2 separate regions of the Homo sapiens genome follow, and region 2 is linked to region 1. The links are contacts of gene promoters, found by promoter capture Hi-C in human tissues and cell types (Jung and others, 2019). All regions are on one chromosome and are shown on one strand. Each heading gives the region's core, a stretch centred on a gene start or on the middle of the fragment in contact. The rest is flanking DNA. Distances are from core to core; before and after follow the strand shown. Region 1 holds the start of F13B (coagulation factor XIII B chain). Region 2 overlaps CFHR2 (complement factor H related 2).

Evidence for each region. The method cuts DNA at HindIII sites, captures the fragments that hold promoters and counts their contacts. A contact is called where the count stands out against the background at its distance.
Region 2: a contact is called between a fragment that was not itself captured here and the fragment with the promoter of F13B in region 1, in 2 of the 25 tissues and cell types used here (liver and mesenchymal stem cells).

What each region holds. Positions count from the first base shown.
Region 1 is chr1:197,065,297-197,070,175 of GRCh38, forward strand. It overlaps F13B (coagulation factor XIII B chain), which reads right to left and starts at 1,964. Exons shown (of 12, transcript NM_001994.3): 1 at 1,864-1,964. The coding sequence starts at 1,927. RefSeq lists an enhancer at 3,072-4,271. The HindIII fragment of the contact is 20,654 bases long and covers 1-4,879 here.
Region 2 is chr1:196,946,395-196,951,273 of GRCh38, forward strand. CFHR2 (complement factor H related 2) reads left to right here. Exons shown (of 5, transcript NM_005666.4): 2 at 3,061-3,255; 3 at 4,458-4,634. Among named protein-coding and RNA genes, the nearest start is that of CFHR2, 5.1 kb to the left of the region's middle. The HindIII fragment of the contact is 5,533 bases long and covers 1-4,879 here.

The sequences.
Region 1 (4,879 bases), core at 714-3,213:
TGTTAAGGTAGCTGGAATGCCTTGGAGAATATGAATTCCTGACAAAAAATTAATGAGAAATGTGAGGAATATACTAATCACATATAAACCAGGAAATCACAGATGTCTGAACATATTAAAAAAAGTACATGAAGCGATGGACACACTTACTACTGATCAGAGAATGGTAAATAAATAAAAATGGGATATCACTTTATGAATAACCATATAGCAACCAGTACAAAAATGGACAATATGAGGTGTTGGTGAGAATGATGAGGAGCAACAATTTACATCCTCTCTCAGAGATGATATACTTCAAAACTGCCATTCTGCAAAAGTAATCTCTCATTACAGAAATCAAGTACAAGAATAGACTCAATAATGCTATCTGTGAGTGAATACAGACTGATGACATTCTTACAGAAAGATAAGTTGGTTATATTACAATATTCATTCCAGAGCTATTTGTGGTTGAGAGAGCTAGAGTAACATGTTAAAACATTGTAGTAGGTCCCAGGGGAAATGGACTTCAAGATTAGGAATAAGGGGATAAAATGTGTAAGTAAAGCAAGAGTGAGACCTTTCATAGGCCAATAATACTTGCATACCATGAAATGAGAAACACAATTAATTCAATTCTTGTCCCTGAAGTGCACAATGGGAGTTGAGAGAAGCATGCAAAAATAAAATCATTGTCTTGGTCTTCAAGCAGCTTACTTTTTTTTTTGTTGTGTAAAATAGCATTATAACCTTATAATAATTAGAAAATTAACTAGAATATTGCAATGTCTTTATGGTATAGATAACAGACAATTATATCTGCTGGTATTTCCCTATTTAGACAGAAAAATAAAATCAAAAGAAATTCATGCAAAAATCATCCTATTATAGAATTAAAAGTATAAAATAAGATTAATTCTGTGTCTTTCACTTTTATAATTTTAATTATAGATGTTTTGGTAGAAAATTTATAGTTAACTATTCAACTAAAACACAGTTAAAACTTATGTATTTAATTTCAACAAATTCCCAAAAATGTTTATTTTAGAAAAGCTGTATTGCTGTAGCTTCCTTCTTTGTATGTTCACTCTTGCTAATGCTAAGTGTCCTCCCTGGATTCTTCATCCTATGGCCTGATAATATTGATAATGTTCCTGAACAACATACCCATGTACACTGCCTAGCTTCCACTCGCACACTAATCTTACACATTGGGCAATCTGACTATAAAGCTTTCTAATAGGGAGTCCATAGGTATTGGTTTGTTTGGAAAGTCCTGATTTACATGTGTTGTCCAAACAGTTATTAATAGAGCCCCTCTTTTACTCTCTAAGTGTCCCTGTTTGTACAAGCAATTATATGGTTCACCTACTAATCACTACTTAATGTCTCCAACAAATGAATAATTCATTGTGATAAAAATCAAAGTCTCAAAAGTAAAAAATATTTATGGCTATTTCCTTTTCAAATTTCCCACATTAAACTCTCACCTTATGAACAGAATTAAAATTGTACAAGTTTTGTCAGTATTAGGAATGGATTCTAGCATAAATTTAGAATTAAAGTTAACATGTGACTTCGAAATGGACATATTGTTAACCTGAAAACCTTTTCGAAGTATTTAGATCCTGGTCTCCTATGCCCCCTAGAGATACAAGGGTTTTTGTTTTGTTTTGCTTTTCTGACTTATGCTACTGTAAGAACACTTTACTAATTTTGCTCAAAGGAAAAGGTCTAAATATTATAAAAAGTTATATTTATAAAATATGTTATAAAATTGATAATGAAAATAGAAGAGTATATTAAAACTTGAGTTGTATAAATATTAGAATCTCCATTTGTATGTTTTAGAGAATAAAGAATATTAAGAATTAATTTTACCTTCTGCATAGAGTTCTCCTGAGATTATCAATATGATGATAAAAGTCAGGTTTTTCAACCTCATCTTCAGTGGTGTGCTTCACAAAGATTTTAACAATTCTAAGCACTAGGAACTTGTCATTAAGTACACAATACTTCTCTTGAGGAAAAAGTTAATAATTTATAACCTCTGTCTAAGTCCTTTTGTAACGAGTCTTATATTTCACTTAAAATATTTTGAAATAATGTTAAAATAACACAACTATATTAATTGACATTACTTACCATGTCAGAGTCCAGTAAGAGCATGATAACTGATTAGGGCAACAATAGCAGCAGAATAAATAATAAATTATAGCAGCAGAATAAATAATACTAGGTAAATTTTCAACCTAAGTTCCCAATTGTAAATTCATAGAGTAAAGTTCACTTGAGGCCATAGATCTTTACTAATATTGATCAGGTAAAAAGATGAACTTAGGAACATGAGATAACAGATACCTGATGTTGAAATATGTTGTTGCCTAGACTGCACTCCTTAAAGAGATACAGAACCATAGTTGTCTCAATGATAGAATAGTATTACTTATAATAGTAGTGTTTGACATTTAGAGAGTTTTTACTTTGTGGCAGGTGGTGAGATCAGCACTGTGCTATATCAACATTCATTCATGAGAAATGTTTAGAACGTCCATGATAATGGCAGCACATGTAACAGTTTTGAGGTATTTAGCAGTGAAAAAACTGGATTAAAATTATTGCCCTCATGGAGTTTACATTCTAATGAGTTTTAATTTAAAATACAAAATAGGAAAAAATGGTGGATAGGAGGCAGGACTAACTTGCAGCTCCCACTTGGATGGACAGAGCAGGATGTGGAGACTCGCATTGTGAACTTTTGCTCCAAGAACTGCTGCAAGGATATAACAGGAAAGCCAAGATAATCCACAGACCCTCTGAAGAAAGTATATTGCTCCTGCATGACCCAGAAAATAGCCCACATACTGTGAATGCCCAAACTGTGAAAAGTGTGAAAGGGGTATTGTCCACCCCTGAACACACACCCTTGGGGAACCTGAAGGTCTAGATCACAGGAGAAGGATTTGACCTTACCTGGAGCTCAGACAATTTAGAGAGCTGAGCGAAATACAGGGGTAGAGGAAGCAAAGGGTAAAGCCCCATCGTCTCTGTGGGTCCCCAGAGAAGCCATTTCTGACTTGTCTCACAGGGGCTGCCGGAGGAACTGGGAAAAGACCACAGGGAGAAGGAAACCTCCAGCTGAACTTAGTAACAATTCCAACCGAACACAAACTTTCCTGTCCAGAACTCAGGAAAGGGCGTGAATCTGGTGTGCAGACTTAACAGGTAGGGAGGCACAAAAGTCTGGCTTGCATTCTCAGCTGGGAGGCTAGTAGCCTGGGGCAAGTTCTCAATCCTGCTCCCCTACTGCCTGGAAACAAATTCGGTGCTTTTTGGGGGAACACAGTAGAAGTGAGATTTGCTTGTTGGGTTGTGTGAGAGCTGGGTGAGGTCTGTAACTGCCAGCTTTCCCCCACTTCCCTGACAACCTGCATGACACAGAAGAGGCAGCCATAATCCTCCTGGGAAGGTAACTCCATTAACCTGGGAATCACACCCCCATTCCCCACAGAGCCACAACAAGCCCCACCCAAGAAGACTCTGAGCTCAGACATGCCTAACCCTGCCCCCACCTGATGGTCCTTCCCTACCCACCCTGGTAGCTGAAGACAAAGGTCATATTCTCTTGGAAGTTCTAGTGTCCCACCCACCACCTGATCCTCCCCTATATACCACAGCTGATGCTCTCATGAAAGCACTACCTCATGGCAGTGTGTCTGGAATTGGTTCCTTCCAATGGGTTCTTGGTCTTGCTGACTTCAAGAATGAAGCTGCGGACGCTTGCGGTGAGCATTACAGTTTTTAAAGATGGTGTGTCCGGAGTTTGTTCCTCTGATGTTCAGATGTGTCCAGAGTTTCTTCCTTCTGGTGGGTTCCTGGTCTTGCTGACTTCAGGAGTGAAGCCGCAGACCTTCACAGTGAGTGTTACAGCTCTAAAAGATGGTGCGTCCGGAGTTGTTTCTTCCTCCTGGTGGGTTCGAGGTCTTGCTGACTTCAGGAGTGAAGCCACAGACCTTCGCGGTGAGTGTTACAGCTCATAAAGGTAGTGCAGACCCAAAAAGAGAGCAGCAGCAAGATTTATTGCAAAGAGCGAAAGAACAAAGTTTCCACAGCCTGGAAGGGGACCAGACCAGGTTGCTGCGGCTGGCTCGGGTGGCCAGCTTTTATTCCCTTATTTGGCTCCGCCCACATCCCGCTGATTGGCACATTTTACAGAGTGCTGGTTGGTCTGTTTTTACAAAGTGCTGATTGGTGCATTTACAAACCTTTAGCTAGACACAGAGCGCTGATTGGTGTGTTTACAATCCTTTAGCTAGACAGAAAAGTTCTCCAAGTCCCCATTCGACCCAGGAAGTCCAGCTGGCTTCACCTCTCAGCAGGAGGCCAACCAGCACCAAACTAGTGCATCAAACAACTACAACTAAGGACCCTCACAGAGTTCCTTTCACTCCCCTGCCACCTCTACTGGAACAGGTGCTGGTATCCATGACTGAGAGAACTGAAGACAGTTTACATCACAGGACTCTATGCAGACAACCCCCAGTACCAGCCCAGAGCCTGGTAGCCCTTCTGGTGGCTAGATCCAGAAAAGTAATAATAATCACTACAGTTTGGCTCTCAGGAAGTCACATCCCTAGGAAAAGGGGGAGAATACTACATCAAGGGAGCACCCCGTGGGACAAAAGAATCTGAACAGCAGCCTTGAGCCCCAGATCTCCCCTCTGACATAGCCTACCCAAAAGAGAAGGAACTAGAAAAACAATTTTGGTATTATGACAAAACAAGGTTCTTTAACACCACCCAAAAATCACACTAGCTCATCAGCAATGGATCCAAACCAAGAAGAAATTCCTGAACTGCCAGAAAAAGAATTCAGAAGTTTGATTATTAAGCTAAT
Region 2 (4,879 bases), core at 1,099-3,598, 120 kb before region 1:
AACCTTAGTTTATGTTGACCTTTTTACTTCATCAACTTTAATTTTTATGTCTTTCGAGATAATATTTAGCTTAAAAAACATTGTAGAGATGTACAAAAGATTTTTTCTTTCTGTTCTTGTGCTATAAGCTTTTATCTTTTAAATATTTTACTTATTTATTTACTTTTTAAACCTTTTTGTTAAAAACAGACACAAACACACATATTAACCTCAGCCTACAAAGGGTTAGGATCATCAGTATCACTGTCTTCTTCCTCCGCTCTTGTCCCACTAGAAGATCTTCAGGGCAGTAACAGGCATGGAGCTGTCCTCTCCTATGATAACAAAGGTTTCTTCTGGAATAGTTCCTGAAGGATCTGCCTCAGGAAACATTAACCGTTTTACAGTTAATTTTTTTAACCAGTAGAAGAAGTTAACTATAAAATACTGATAACAATTATACTATATGAAATACATTAACCAGTAACACTTCTATATTGTCATCATCAAGTATTATGTACTGTACAAAATTGTGTGTGGCATATTTTTATGTGACTGGCAATGCTGTAGGTTTATTTACACCGGCATTGCCACAAACATGTGAGTAATATATTACACTGCTATGTTATGATGGCTATTAGGTGATAGGAATTTTTCAGCTACACTATAATCTTATGGGTCCACTGTCACATGAGCGATCAGTCATTGACCAAAATGTCATTATGTGGTGAATATCTGTACAACTGTATATATGTATGTGTGTGTGTGTGTGTGTGTGTGTATCCCAGAAGAAATATATTCATAATATTCTATCAGAATGTTGAGACAAGAAAAATTATTTTCTACTTTTGAAGTGGGTGGTTGTGTAAAGGAGGCTTGCAAGAAGACATTAACACTCCTAGCTAGCACCATTGCAGATATGCACAATGAATACTTGATGAATGTCATAGAGTTAATTCTGAAGCATAGGTACAATATAACTGGGTGATGAAAACCAAGTTATTCTGGATAGCAAAGAATATGTAAGTACAAATGTATGAAAATAAACTACTATAATTTTGGAGGAGTGAAGGATAACTAAAAGAGTTATGGTAGGTTAATACTATCAAGATGGGAGTCTTTCCCTCAATACCTTTACCAAAACTATCTAATGTCAAATTTTAAACAGTTAGATAATCAGTTTCACGTTTCACAAAGTGAAAATATTTCAAATATTGTGCAACATTAAACATTACTTCTAGACAGATGAAAAAGAGAAATTTCTGTTGATTTGTCAGCTTAATTTCTGCACACATCTTCCAAATAAGGTGAAAAATAAAATTATTTCTTATGCAACAGTACTATATTGCAACAATATCTTGACATAAAAACAAAGAGCAGTAATATATGAGGAACTATCTTGAGCTAAATACATACTCAAAGATAAAGTATATCAAACCCATGGAATGTACAACATCAAGAGTGAACCCCAACATAAACTATGAACTTTGGGTGATAATTATATTGACGGTGAGGGAGGTTATGCATGTGGTAGGGAAGAGGAAGTGGTATATAGAAATCTCTACCTTCCACTCAATTTTGCTGTGAAAAACTTGTTAATAAAATATAAAGTCTTATAAAAATATGTGTGTATATATATGAATGTGTACACAAAGAAAGAGTCAAAAAGTATGAAGATTTCACCCATTTTCTACATTGTTTTAATTTTTCCTGCACCATCGTGTATATGGATGTATATATACATATATACACTAGTCCTTTAGTATCCTCAAGGAATTGGTTCCAGGACTCTACCCACCCCCAGTAGATACCAAAATCCAAGGATATGCAAGTCTCTAAGACAGAATGATGTAGTATTTGTATATAACCTGTGTATATCCTCCCAAACAATTTATTTTATTTTATTTTAATTTTTTTTGAGGTAGAGTCTTGCTCTGTCGCCCCCAGGATGGTGTTTAGTGGCATGATCTCGGCTCACTGCAACATACCCCTCCTGGGTTCAAGTGATTCTTCTGCCTCAGCCTCCCAAGTAGCTGGGATTACAGGTGTGCACCACCACACCTGGCTAATTTTTGTATTTTTAGTAGAGATGGGCTTTCGCCATGTTGGCCAGGCTGGTCTCAAACTCCTGACCTCAAGTGATCCACCTACCTCAGCCTCCCAAAGTGCTGGGATTACAGGTATGAGCTACCACACCCAACCCTCTCATACAATTTAAAGAATCTCTAGATTATTTATAATACCTAATACAATGTAAATGCTATACAAATAGTTGTTATATTGTATTTTTAATTGCATTATTTTTATTGTTTTATTGTCTTTTTATTGTTTTTTTCCGAATATTTTTGATCTGCAGTTGGTTGAATCAGAGGATGTGAAACCAGTGGGGCTGACCGTATATATATGTGTGTATACAAGTATAAATATATAAATACAAATATACAATACATATTTGTATATACAACATTAACCAGAATTTAGCTCTAACTTTATCTTGAGTTGTTCTTAGTGATTTTCTTATATTCTCTCAATTATTTCCACTGAAACTATATTAACTTTGTAACCAGAAAGTATTCAAAATGATATTAATAAACAAACAACAAAACTAACTACCCAACATCTTTTCTGCACCAGAAAAAAAATAGGACAGAGTTTCTGGTGGAGATACCTATGACAGTCAATGAGAATAGAGAAAATAAGTAAATTGAGAGCTAAGAACAACCCTGTCACTCCTCTACTGTATACTAAGTAGATCAGGAAGATTTGCTAGTCTTACACTCTGCCTTCATTCTTAAATTGTTGTGTGAGGGTTTTCTTCTTGAAGACATTGCAGGAGAGTTCATATTTCATATCACTCCAAAATATAGATTTTATATTCATTAACAATTACCTCCTCAAATACTCGTGTACTCTTAGTTAGTGATGTCTTTTCATTCCTAATTTGGACACTGGAGAGCATTTAAGCTAAAGGCATTTAAGCTAAATGAAAGAAAAAAACTAAATGAGATGATTAAAATATAGTCTAGTGATTTATTTATGTAGCTTATTATGTAATTCTTCAGTTTTGTGTTATTTTCCCAGCAATGTTCTGTGATTTTCCAAAAATAAACCATGGAATTCTATATGATGAAGAAAAATATAAGCCATTTTCCCAAGTTCCTACAGGGGAAGTTTTCTATTACTCCTGTGAATATAATTTTGTGTCTCCTTCAAAATCCTTTTGGACTCGCATAACGTGCGCAGAAGAAGGATGGTCACCAACACCAAAGTGTCTCAGTGAGTAAATGCCCTGTTCATTAAATGGATGTCATTCAATGAACAGAGAAGGATATGCCAGACAAGATCATAAACACTTGATAATCACAGGAGCAGTGACCAGAGGAGCTGGAAAGATGGGAGATGTAGTCCTTCTATTTTGAGATGGCTCCTATGAGAATCAATGAAGAATAAATATGTCAACTGTCTTGCATTACCCGGAAATTCTCTACATGTTGAAATATATCAATTTTTTTAAACTGATGATTAATATATTTGACTGCTAATATTTCTTTACTAATATTCATTTGGCAGCAGCCTGATCATAGTTTTCCTTTTAAATGTCATTTTATACATATTCTGTTTTGAATTTAACATTCTTTTGCATATTACAAGGAGGTTTAGCATTTTCACTTTTATATTTCAATAAATAATTTCTTTGGTCCTTCAAAGTGTAGCTATATTAACCCTCCAATAAATGTAGAGAGCAGACTCCAATGATAACAGGTATATTAAAAGAGAAAACAACTGGGAGACAGATAGATGAGGCAACAAAGGAGATAGCAATGATCTTTCTCCTAAGAAACATTTATGAGAGTTAAGAGAGAAATAGATATATGTAGATGTTCTTTTGTCCCTAAAAGAGTTGATAAACATAAAATATTTTATTATAAAAAACATAGAGTAACAACATGAAATATTTTCTTCTATATGTACATATAAAGGAACCAAAAATATATTTCATCATATATATAGTAGCAAGACTTAACTTCTTTTGAAAATGTTTATATTTGATTTCAGCTTTGAAAGCTTTCCTTTTTGGTTTTTTGTTTGTTTGTTTTGTTTTGTTTTGTTTTGTTTTTGAGACAGAGTCTCATTCTGTCACCCAGGCTGAAGTGCAGTGGTGCCATCTCGACTCACTGCTACCTCTGCCTTCTGGGTTCAAGTGATTCTCCTGTCTCAGCCTCCAGAGTAGCTGGAATTACAAGTGCACACCACTATGCCCGCTAATTTTTGTATTTTTAGTAGAAACAGGGTTTCACCATGTTGACCAGGCTGGCCTCGAACTCATGGCCTCAAATGATCCACTCACCTCAGCCTCCCAAAGTGCAGGGATTACCAGCTTGAGCCACTTCACCCTATTTATTAAAATATTTTAAAATGCAGTTGTACTTTTTCTTTGCTACTTCCATCTTGTCTATTAATCTGTTTTTGGTCTTTAGGACTGTGTTTCTTTCCTTTTGTGGAAAATGGTCATTCTGAATCTTCAGGACAAACACATCTGGAAGGTGATACTGTACAAATTATTTGCAACACAGGATACAGACTTCAAAACAATGAGAACAACATTTCATGTGTAGAACGGGGCTGGTCCACTCCTCCCAAATGCAGGTCCACTAGTAAGTGCAATGTTGTTCTCTCAGATGCTGTTATATTATAAAGTGTAAAAGAAATAAATCTTTTTTTACAGATTAAATATAGGTTAAATATAGGTTTTGCCACATACTTCTATCATTATTCATTTGATTCTCAGTTCCAATTGTGTCTAAGTGGATGTGCAATAATATAGTTTGCCTACCTATATAAATCAAATATATGTGATAAGTAAAAATATTAGACAAGAATACACCTTGAAGATAATCCC